Linked DNA regions of Homo sapiens: region 1 is linked to region 2. The links are contacts of gene promoters, found by promoter capture Hi-C in blood cells and fetal thymus (Javierre and others, 2016). All regions are on one chromosome and are shown on one strand. Each heading gives the region's core, a stretch centred on a gene start or on the middle of the fragment in contact. The rest is flanking DNA. Distances are from core to core; before and after follow the strand shown.

Region 1 (5,645 bases), core at 44-2,543, 230 kb after region 2:
CTTAGTGGGAGTACTGACCACCCCATGCAAAACAAAGAAATGCATTATTGAAAGCAAATGACACGGGAATTGTAGCCAAAACACCAGATATGCCAGGGCAGAGAGAAAAGCTTTTTAATTAACAGGGAAGAGCTCACTCTGGGCAGTCTGCGGACACCCCTGGGAGGAAGCGTCTGCTCTCGCTGACCCCCACACCCGCCTGCACGGTGAGGCCAGTTGACACGGCGCGGTCACTCTGCTGAGTCCCCAGGGAACCCTGGAGATCTTGCAGGCCTCAACTCCAGGCTCCCTCTTCTGGAAGCTCCTGGTCTTCCTTGGCTCAGTGAGACTCAGCATTACCTGCCTTTCAGCCTGCCTGGGTCCCACCGCACCCACGTCCCTTCCTGTCACCTGCTAGGAGTACCCTGGGAACGGCCGCCCCCAGTACTGATTACCAACGTGTTTCCTGACTCAGTCCTGGAAAGCTCAGTTCTCTCTCCTATTCGACTTGGTCCCAGTGACTGCTGGCAACCCCAGACAACAGACCCAGCCCACAGGGCACCCGGGGCAAAGGCGGGCCGGGAAATGGGGGGGGGCCCAGGCGACCCCGACCCCCGGCCTCCTCCCCTCCCTCACCCGCGGCTCCTTCGCCGCCCTCGCCCCTGCCCCTCCCCCCTTCCACTCCGCCCCCGCCCCGCCCCGCCCCGGCTCCTCCCTCCGGCTCCGCCCTCGTCCCGCCCCGGCTCCTCCCTCCGGCTCCGCCCTCGTCCCGCCCCGGCTCCTCCCTCCGGCTCCGCCCTCGTCCCGCCCCGGCTCCTCCCTCCGGCTCCGCCCTCTCCCCGCCCCGGCTCCGCCCTCTCCCCGCCCCGGCTCCGCCCTCTCCCCGCCCCGGCTCCTCCCTCCGGCTCCGCCCTCGTCCCGCCCCGGCTCCTCCCTCCGGCTCCGCCCTCTCCCCGCCCCGGCTCCTCCCTCCGGCTCCGCCCTCGCCCCGCCCCGGCTCCTCCCCCCACCCCGGGGCGGCCGCGGCCAGGCCCCGCCTCACCAGCAGTTGAGCTTGCGCACGCTGTGCAGCTCCGAGGCCTTGGCCCGGGTCAGAACCATCTTCCGCGTCAGCTTCATGGCGGCCGCCCAGGCCCGACCGGCGGGCGCCCCCGGCCTCCTGATCCCGGGCGGGTGACGACTGCGCGGCGCGTGTCTCCAGGGGCGGGGCCCGCGTCGTCAGGGGCGGATCCTGAGCCGATTGGCGGCTCGGTGAGGAGAGCGGGGCGACGCGAGCCCGCTGGGGCCGCTTGGGCGCCGCTGACACGTTGGCTCTGCTCCTGCTCATGCGCGGCCTGGGGCGCCCTTCTCTGACGCGATTCTAACGCGACCCCGGAAGCGCGCAGCGAGCAGAGGGTGGGTGCAGGTGGCGGTCCCCGAGTCGGCCCAGTGAGGGCTGAACTGCTGCTCCCAGGAACCGAGCGGGGTGGGCTCGGTCCGACGCGCATCATGGCCGAGTGCCTAGGCCTGACTCTGAGCGCAGGCCTAGCGTGGATGGCATGGGCGCTACACAGCTCCAAGTTACGCGATTCAAACTCTTGGAATAAACCCAGGGCAGCCCTGGGGCTGTGTTGATTCCTTGTCTCCCTCCCTCCCAGCATTTACAGAAAAGACGCATTTATAGGAAAGACGCACGGGCAGGTCCAGCAGAGCCCTTACAAGCATTTCAACCTTTTAGAAATCAGATAAGACCCTCTAAACATCGTTACATGGGCCACAGTTACATTAAGACAGGCGTTCTGACGTTCTGAAACCGCCTTTGCAAAAAATTGTATCGGTGAGAGAAGGTTGGCCTTGAAGGAGATCTGGCCAACCCCCATCTTGCCTTTGGCCTTAAAACTGCCCTTAATTATTCCTGGATAAGCAAAGGTAACTTTGGGAGACATTTATAGTTTAAGTGATAGCAGCCCTTCCTCAAAACTAAACAGCCTTTGTAAAGCTAATGAGACCACTGAAACCGCCTTTGCAAAAATCATAACTGAAGAAATTATGACAGGGGAAGATCTCCTCACCCACCCCATCTTCCTGCTATCCTCTAAGCTGCTTTTGTTCATTCCTGGGTGTAGACCAGACTAGCCTTGGGAAGGAATTTAGTTTATAGATTAAACTGAAACAAAATTGATAATAGCCCTTTCCCAAAAAAACCCTTCTTGCCTGGGGACCAGTCTGCCTTTGTAGGACTAACAAATTAAGCTACGAGATTAAAAATTACAGTTTAGGGGCCATGCAACCTCTGGCGGCAAGAGTCTGAACCTCCCCAAATTGCTTCTGGGAATAACATCACTGTTGCAAAACTTAAGGTCAGTGCTTGAAATATTTTGTAGACCCTGCATTCAGATGCAGCAGATGACACCACCCAAACGGATAATCTGGCTCAACCATGTGTGTGATCCCACCCAGGGACAGAAGTCAGCCAGAACTCATTTTGACCCCCTATGATTTAATCTTCGACCTGACCAATCAGCACTCACCACTTTCTGAGCCCATACCCGCCAAATTATCCTTAAAAACACGGATCCCCGAATGCTTGGGGAGACTGATTTGAGTGATAATAAAACTCTGCTCTCCTGCACAGCCAGCTCTGTGTGTATTACTCTTTCTCCATTGCAATTCCGTTGCCTTGATAAATCGGTTCTGTCTAGGCAGTGGGCAAGGCGAACCCATTGGGCGGTTACACTACCAGCCTAGAAGGATAGAGGAGCATGAATTCCACTAAGATGCAGATGTAAACATTCGTCAGCCATTATTCTGGAGGTCACAAGATAAGCTACTTCCCCAATTACTCCTGCAGGTAACATCACTATTGTACCTTTGCAGGTTTCTTGCATGTCTCACACGGATGGATCCAGCTAAATGTCTTGCCAACAGCTCCTGTGGCCCCACCCAGAAGCCATGCAGCACAAAAGGACCAAAAGGACAGCTAGATTTCATCTCGCACCTAACCAATCAGCACTCCCCATGCCCTAGCCCCCTGTTCACCAAACTACCTTTGAACAACCCCTAACCCATGAGCCTTCAATTGTAACCGAGCAGCTTAGCAGCTGTGAATCCAAAATATCTGAGACAGGACTCAATCTGTTTAGAAAGTTTATTTTGTCAAGGTTAAGGACAAGCCCATGACACAGCCTCAGGAGGTCCTGATGACATGTGCCCTGGGTGGCTGGGGCACAGCTTGCTTTCATACATTTTTAGGGAGACATGAGACATCAATCAATATGTGTAAGATGGAAAAAGAAGAAAAAATATATGTATAAGATGTACATTAAGCCGGGCGCGGTGGCTCACGCCTATAATCCCAGTACTTTGGGAGGCTGAGGCAGGTGGATGGCCTGAGGTCAGGAGTTCGAGACCAGCCTGGCCAACATAGTGAAACCCTGTCTCTACTAAAAATACAAAAAATTAGCTGGGCGCGGTGGTGGGTTTCACTCGTGTCCATGTGAAGAGACCACCAAACAGGCTTTGTGTGAGCAATCAAGCTGTTTATTTCACCTGGGTGCAGGTGGGCTGAGTCTGAAAAGAGAGTCAGTGAAGGGAGATAAGGGTGGGGCCGTTTTATAGGATTTGGGTAGATAAAGGAAAATTATAGTCAAAGGGGGGTTGTTCTCTGGCGGGCAGAGTGGGAGTCACAAGGTGCTCAGTAGGGGAGCTTTTGAGCCAGGATGAGCCAGGAGAAGGAATTTCACAAGACAATGTTATCAGTTAAGGCAGGAACAGGCCATTTTCACTTCTTTTATGGTGGAATGTCATCAGTTAAGGCGAGAACCAGCCATCTGGATGTGTACGTGCAGGTCACAGGGGACATGGTGGCTTAGCTTGGGCTCAGAGGCCTGACAGTGGGCGCCTGTAATCCCAACTACTTTGGAGGCTGAGGCAGGAGAATCGCTTGAACCCGGGAGGCAGAGGTTGCAGTGAGCCGAGACTGTGCCATTGCACTCCAGTCTGCGCAACAAGAGCGAGACTCCGTCTTAAAAAAAAAAAAAAGATGTACATTAGTTCAGTCTGGAAAGGCAGGACACCTTGAAGGCCGGGTGGGGTTGTGGGGGTGGAGGGAGGCTTCCAGCTTCCAGGTCATCGGTGGATAAGAGACAAAAGATTGCATTCTTTTGAGTCCTTTCACTGAATACACAATTTGGTCTAGCTTAGTAAATCTGCATTTTTACATAAACAATAAGGCAGAGAAAGCAAACAGATAGGCATGTGTCTCCGGTGAGCAGGGGGATGACCTCCTGTCCCACACCTGTGAAGATCAGCTATCAGTTTACATTCCAGGGTGAAATTCAACAGAACTGTTTGAGGGTAAAGATCTTGAGGCCCACAAGGAATTTCCTTGTGGGCAAATTGTGAGGGAGCTTCATAGCTTTTTATCTTTGTAGCGATCTTATTTAGGAATAAAATTGGAGGCAGGTTTGCCTGATGCATTTTCCAGCTGACTTTTCCCTTGACTTAGTGATTTTAAGGTCTTGAGCTTTATATTCCTTTCACACAGCTAAGCCTCAAACCATGTTTTAAAACTTTTTCCCCTTTCCCCTTTCCTCCTCCTCCACCCTAGTCTGAAGATGTAACTGAGACAAGCTGCTTGTGTTACCTTCCATCTTGAAATACAGCCTGGGAATGTGAACCTCCACTCCGTTCCCATCCTGTGCTCTCAGGCCTTATGCACATTTAGTTTACCTGGATGCCTGTTAAGCACACACCATGCTCACTTATCTGGTCATCTCTTTGCTTGGAAGCTTCAGGGGTCAGCTCCTGAAAGGGACCGGACACCTCATTCTGTCTCCAACAAGATTACTTCAAGGCCAGAACTCACTCTCGGCCTTGAAGTAATTGAGGACTAAACTCTGATTTTTCTTTTTTTATCTTGCCCAAATTCCTAAAGGGCATGGACAGTCATGCCCTACAAACCATAAATTCTCATCAGATGGGTTTTATTTAACCTTCTATATCGTGGTGTTGACAAAAAGAGTCAAACTCTGTAAAATATTTTAAGAGATTTATTCTGAGCCAGATATGAATGACCATGGCCCGTGACGCAGCCCTCAGGAAATCCTGAGAACATGTGTCCAAGGTGGTCGGGGCACAGCTTGGTTTTTTACTTTTTAGGAAGGCATGAGACAGCAATCTAATACATTTAAGAAATACGTTGGTTTGATTCAGAAAGGCGGGACAACTCAAAGTGGGGGCTTCCAGGCTATCGGTGAATTTAAACATTTTCTGGTTGACGGTTGAGTTTGTCTAAAGACCTGGGATCCATAGAAAGGAAATGCTCAGGTTCAGATAAAAGACTGTGGAGACCGCTGGGCACGGGGGCTCACGCCTGTAATCCCAGCACTTTGGGAGGCCGAGGCGGGCGGATCGCGAGGTCAGGAGATCGAGACCATCCTGGCTAACACGGTGAAACCCTGTCTCTACTAAAAATACAAAAAACAAACAAAAAAATTAGCTGGGCATGGGGGCGGGCGCCTGTAGTCCTAGCTACTCGGGAGGCTGAGGCAGGAGAATGGTGTGAGCCCGGGAGGCGGAGCTTGCAGTGAGCCGAGATTGCGCCACTGCACAGAAAAAAAGAAAAAAAAAGACTGTGGGGACCAAGGTTCTTTTGAAGTCTTTAATGGCTGCCCTTAGAGACAATC
Region 2 (5,266 bases), core at 319-2,818:
ACAAATATCTGTGGAACATGTAAATACTGTCAAATGGAAAATAAAATAAGTTATAATTTTTGTGAATTTCATGGGATGTCCTATGATTGGAAAAATTATAACTCTTCTGATTCTAATGTGGAAATTGTTGTATTTAATCTGAAAATGACTTTACCTACAACAGTTCCATTGTCAGCACAGCCTAGGAAGGTCAGATCCTGTATTAATTACTCTTAGTGGAGATGCCAGATATCCCATACAGAATTAGCAGAGAAAATACACACAGGCTTCTATTCAAATTTTCTTTAGTGCTTAAAATTAAGTTTTAAAATGAAATCAGACACTGCAGGTTTGTATATAAAATGAAAAGCTATACTACTTTTTACAAAAGGGCAAACTGGGCTGATGTAAATGTTTTACTTTCAACTGTGTTCTTTAAAATAAATCCTACCTGGTTTTTAAATTTTATTTTTCATGAAAATGCTCCTTTCTCTACATTTATTCATCCTATATACATCAGGCTGTAAGACCCCCCCCAGTCATCATTAATACAATGTGTTGGGATTCTGTGACTGGAAAAGGTGACAAGTTGGTGACTTTGACACTGCAGGTATTCCATTTTCATGGTTTACTATGAAAAGTCATTTTTCATATTATGTAATATATTGTTAGATTAAAACCATTGTATTAAGACTTTAAAATGTAAGCATTGTAATTCTGAAAATACACATTTTAAGAAGAAACTATTTTGCACTGGATCTTTTGCTGCGACATGGTGTGACAACAGTATGTAATGTGAAGATTTTATTGTTTTATCTCCCTAGTCCTTGTTCCTGACTCTTGGGCATAGATTATTTGCCTTTTGGGAAACATTCGGATTATTTTTTTTTTTTTTTTTTTTTTTTTCTCTGAGACAGTCATGCTCTGTTGCCTAGGCTGGAGTGCAATGGCGCGATCTGGGCTCACTGCAGCCTCCGCCTCCCAGGTTCAAGCCATTCTCCTGCCTCAGCCTCCCGAGTAGCTGGGACTACAGGCATGCGCCTCATTTTTATACTTTAGTAGAGATGATGTTTCACCATGTTGGCCAGGCTAGTCTCGAACTGCTGACCTCAGGTCATCCACCCGCCTCAGTCTCCCAGGCGTGAGCCACCGCACCGGCCAGCATTCGGGACTTTATTCATAATTCCTTACCCAACAGTTCACAAGAACGAAGACATTTGGGTGTGCAGCGCTCTCATGTTGTGGACGCTGCTGTGCCAGGCTGGGCGTCCGTGCGGAGCGCGCCCAGCGCTGGAGCGCGCCTAAGAGGCGCCCTGCAGTGTGGCTCCGGGGTGTGGGCGGGGCCCGGAGAAGGCCCCCGCCTTGGGAGGGGTTGGGCCTCGCGTTCAAACTCCGCCTCGGGGCGGGGCGAGGGCGACGCAGCTCCTCCTGCCTCCTGGGCCGCTGCGGACGGTGGTGCGCGACCCCGTCCCGGGCGCGCGCGCTGTGGGCGGTGCACGCCGTCGCTTCCCGGAAGTGCGTGCTGTGGGCGGTGCCGCGCGGACCCCCGGGAAGTGTCTCTGTGGGCGGCCGCCGGGTTGAGCTGCGGCACACGTGCGACGGCCGTGATGAAGTTCGCTTACCGGGTGAGCGCGGGCGGCGGGCGGTCTGTTGGATCGGCGCGGCTCTTCCGGTGGACGGCGCCTGAGCTGGCTCCGGGCGGGCTGGGGGCGCGTGGTCTGCTTTTGCGGCGTCTGGCCGCGTGGGGGTCGCCGGCTGTCTGCGCGCCCGTGGCCTCGGGGACGCGGGGCTGTGGTGGGGCTCCTGGGAGAGCTGGGACGGAGGCGCCGACGGCTTCTCGGAGGGAACAGGGACATTTGTCGGGGTCCCGGGATATTTTTAACCTGAGTATGGCCCAACCTAAAGGCTGGAGTTGGTGCAGTCGGGGAGGGCACAGCACCCTCGGGAGGGATGAGGAGGTGGGACGGGGCGGGGACGCGGGCGCGCGCAGGCGGGGTGAGAACAGCAGGGACCCGGGGCCCGGGACTGGTCCCTAACGAGCGAGCGTCCAGGTGAGCGGAAGGGCGGGGAACCCAGGTGTGAGCTCTGTTTCCCGAGGCCGGAGGGAATTCCTGAGGCGGACGCCCTCAGCTTTGAGAGCCAGGGAAGACTTGTCCCAGATGTGAAGTGCAGGAGGCGGGTGAGACAGGTAATAAGAGGGGGCCGTGGAGCCGGCCTGGGGGTCTCTGAAGCGTTTGCTACAGCTGGCCGGTTATGGGGACGCCTGTGTTTCCCACAGTGGCCCTGACCGTTGCGCTTCCAGGGTTGCACGGGCCGCCTGCTGCTGAGCCCACCGTGTACTACACTTGTCCTGTCCGAAACTGGGCATGGTACTGGCCCCTCAGAGTGCTGCTCCTGTGTCCCCTGTGCTGGTGGAGCCACCGCTGTGTGCCCAGCACCAAACCAGAAACCATATCCACGTCCTCACAGGCCAGGACTTCATCCGCTCCACATTCCTACTGCAAGGTGGCAAAAAATGTGCCTTGGAGCCTGCCTGGCCGCTTAAAGTCCTTCTGCTGACCAAGCTCCTCCCTGAGGTCCTGAGGGCGCTGCCCACTCACAGCTTCAGGGCCTGGCTGGTGCCTTCCCATTTAGATTCCAGCTCAGGTGACCCTTCCAGGTGCCTCTCCGTGACCACCGTCTAAAGTAGCCCCTGCTCCCACACTTCTCATCCCCCTCCTGCTAGAGAGAGAATATAAGGTGTGCGTGTCTGTGCGCATGGCAGTCTCCAGTGAACGCTCGTGCTCGTGAGTTAGTAAATAGGATGCTGGCTTACCACACTTCTGGAAGCCCTGAGTTCTAAGCACTTTTGGGGTGCTGTTCCATTGTTGCAGCTTTTTTCTTGGTGAAGTGTGGGCTCCATGCCCCTCTTCACCTGGCAGACGCCTCCTGTCTTGGGAGGCTTCCTCAGTGCTCACAGGGGCATCTTACCCATCTCTGTGGGAGCTTGGGGCCGCCCGGGCTCCTCTGGTCTCCTGAGGATCAGGCTCACTTCTTCCTCTCTTACCCAGGAAAGGTGAACGGGCCCCCAAGGTGGGGTTCTCTATGCCATCTCTCTGCCCAGATGCCTCACTTAGTGCTTTTCTGGGAGTCGACTGTTTTCTTTGTGTTAAGACAATTTTGTTTTCTTCACAGTTTTCAAATTTGCTGGGTACGGTGTACCGGCGTGGGAACCTAAATTTTACCTGCGATGGAAATTCAGTTATCAGTCCCGTGGGCAATAGAGTCACTGTATTTGACCTTAAAAAGTAAGTATGTGAAAGTGGTATTCATAATAGTGATACTGATTACTATTATCACCATTTTTTAAGTAACATATGAAAACTGATAGTGTCTTCTGTGCCTTCCTTTTAATGGTGCACCCGTTAATTAAGGGAGCCCAGGACAGGACTACAGGACAGACTAGGGTCAGCAGATCAGTTGTGGAAATTGGCAGCCAGACCCAGTTCTTCGTTGTAGTGCCTTAGCCAGGCCCCATAAAGTGGTGTGTCACTTGGCTCCGTTCTGTGGGAAGGGACCCTGTCCCTGTGCTGTGAAGGGTGGGTGGGGGAAAAGGTGTAGCTCAGGGTTAGCCCTTCCCCCATCAGGGAAGGCCCCTAAGGGCTGAAAGGCCAGGGCTGCTGGGGGAGTTGAAGGTACCTTGGACCCCTGCTCGGGAGCCCTGCTGCCACTGGGCCTCACCAGTCGGACGGGCAGGCCCAAAGCTTCCAGCTCTGCAGCCGGAGGTCAGTTTTATTCGCTGGGGTTTAGCGGTTTCTTCCTGTGTGCTGTTGCACTTTGCTTCACTTTGTTGCACTCTGGCTCTGTGCGGATGCTGTTTTACCACGAAGCGAAGGTGTGTGGAAACACTGCTTGGAGAAAGTTGGTCGGTGCCATTTTTCCAGCAGTGGGGGCTCACTTCATGTCTCTGTGTCACATTTTGGTAATTTTGTGATATTTCAAAGTTTATTATACCTGTGAGGGTGATTTGTGATCATCTTTGCTGTTGCTATCGTGATTGTTCTGGGGTGCCGTGATCCGTGCCCATGTAAGACAGCGAGCTTAATCGGTAAGCACTGTGTGTGCTGTGCCTGCTCCACCGACCGGCTGTTCCCCACCCCCCCACGTCTCTCTTCCTCTACTTGGGTCTCCCTATTCCCTGACACAAACAATGCTGAAATTAGGCCAGTTAATAATGGCCTACAGTGGCCACTACGTGTTCATGTGAAAGGAAGAGTCACACAACTCTCACCTGAAATCAGAAGCTAGAAGGGACTCAGCTTAGTGAGGAAGGCATGTCAAAAGCTGAAATAGGCCAAAAGCCAGGTCTCTGCCACCAAACAGGCAAGTTGTGAATGCAAAGAAAAAGCTTTTGAAGGAAATTAAAAGTGCTACTCCAGTGAACACACAAATTACAAGAAAGCCAAAATAGCCTTATTGCAGATACGGATAAAAGTTTGAGTGATCCAGATAGAAGATCAAACCAGCCACAACATTCCTTTAAGCAAGTCAAAGCCTAATGCACAGCAAGGCCCTACCTGTCCTCTGTTCTGTGAGGGCTGAGGTGAGGAAGCTGCAGGAAAGAAGTTGGAAGCTAGCAGAGGTTGGTTCATGAAGTTTAAGGAAAGAAGCCATCTCTACAACATAAAAGTGCAAAGCGAAGCAGCAAGTGCTATGGAGAAGCTGCAGGAAGTTATCCAGAAGATCTAGCTGAGATCATTGATGAAGCTGACTACACTAAACACAAAATTTCAATGGAGACAAAACAGCCTTCTATTGGAAAAAGATGGCCAGGCGCAGTGGCTCATGCCTGTAATCCCAACACTTTGGGAAGCCAAGGTAGGCAGATCATTTGAGGCCAGGAGCTTGAGACCAGCCTGGCCAATATGGTGAAACCCCGTCTCTACTAAAAGTACAAAAATTAGCCAGGCATGGTGGCACATTCCTGTAATGCCAGCTACTCAGGAGGCTGAGGTGGAAGAATTGCTGGAACCTGGGAAGCAGAGGTTGCAGTGAGCTGAGATCGTGCCAGTACACTCCAGCCTGGGCAACAGAGCAAGACTCTATCTAAAAATAAATAAATTAAAAAAAAAGAAAAAGATGCCATCGAGGACTTACATAGCTAGAGAAAAGTCAGTGTCTGGCTTCAAACAACAGGCTGACTCTCTTATTAGGGGCTAATGCAGCTGGGGCCATTAAGTTGAAGCCAGTGCTAATTCACTGTTCTGAAAATCCTAATGCCCTTCACAATGATGCCCAAGCTACTCTG

The links. The method cuts DNA at HindIII sites, captures the fragments that hold promoters and counts their contacts. A CHiCAGO score of 5 or more calls a contact.
Region 1: a contact is called between the fragment with the promoter of CFAP410 here and the fragment with the promoter of PWP2 in region 2, in 2 of 17 cell types (total B cells and naive B cells). The highest score is 5.4, in total B cells.

The regions. Positions count from the first base shown.
Region 1 is chr21:44,338,097-44,343,741 of GRCh38, forward strand. It overlaps CFAP410 (cilia and flagella associated protein 410), which reads right to left and starts at 1,294. Exons shown (of 7, transcript NM_004928.3): 1 at 1,022-1,294. The coding sequence starts at 1,098. RefSeq lists silencers at 463-582, 883-1,252 and enhancers at 1,253-1,472, 3,335-3,977, 3,978-4,621, 5,364-5,645. The HindIII fragment of the contact is 4,638 bases long and covers 109-4,746 here.
Region 2 is chr21:44,105,831-44,111,096 of GRCh38, forward strand. PWP2 (PWP2 small subunit processome component) reads left to right here and starts at 1,569. Exons shown (of 21, transcript NM_005049.3): 1 at 1,569-1,604; 2 at 3,154-3,266. The coding sequence starts at 1,587. TRAPPC10 (trafficking protein particle complex subunit 10) reads left to right here. Exons shown (of 23, transcript NM_003274.5): 23 at 1-722. RefSeq lists silencers at 1,115-1,631, 1,222-1,605. The HindIII fragment of the contact is 7,342 bases long and covers 1-3,720 here.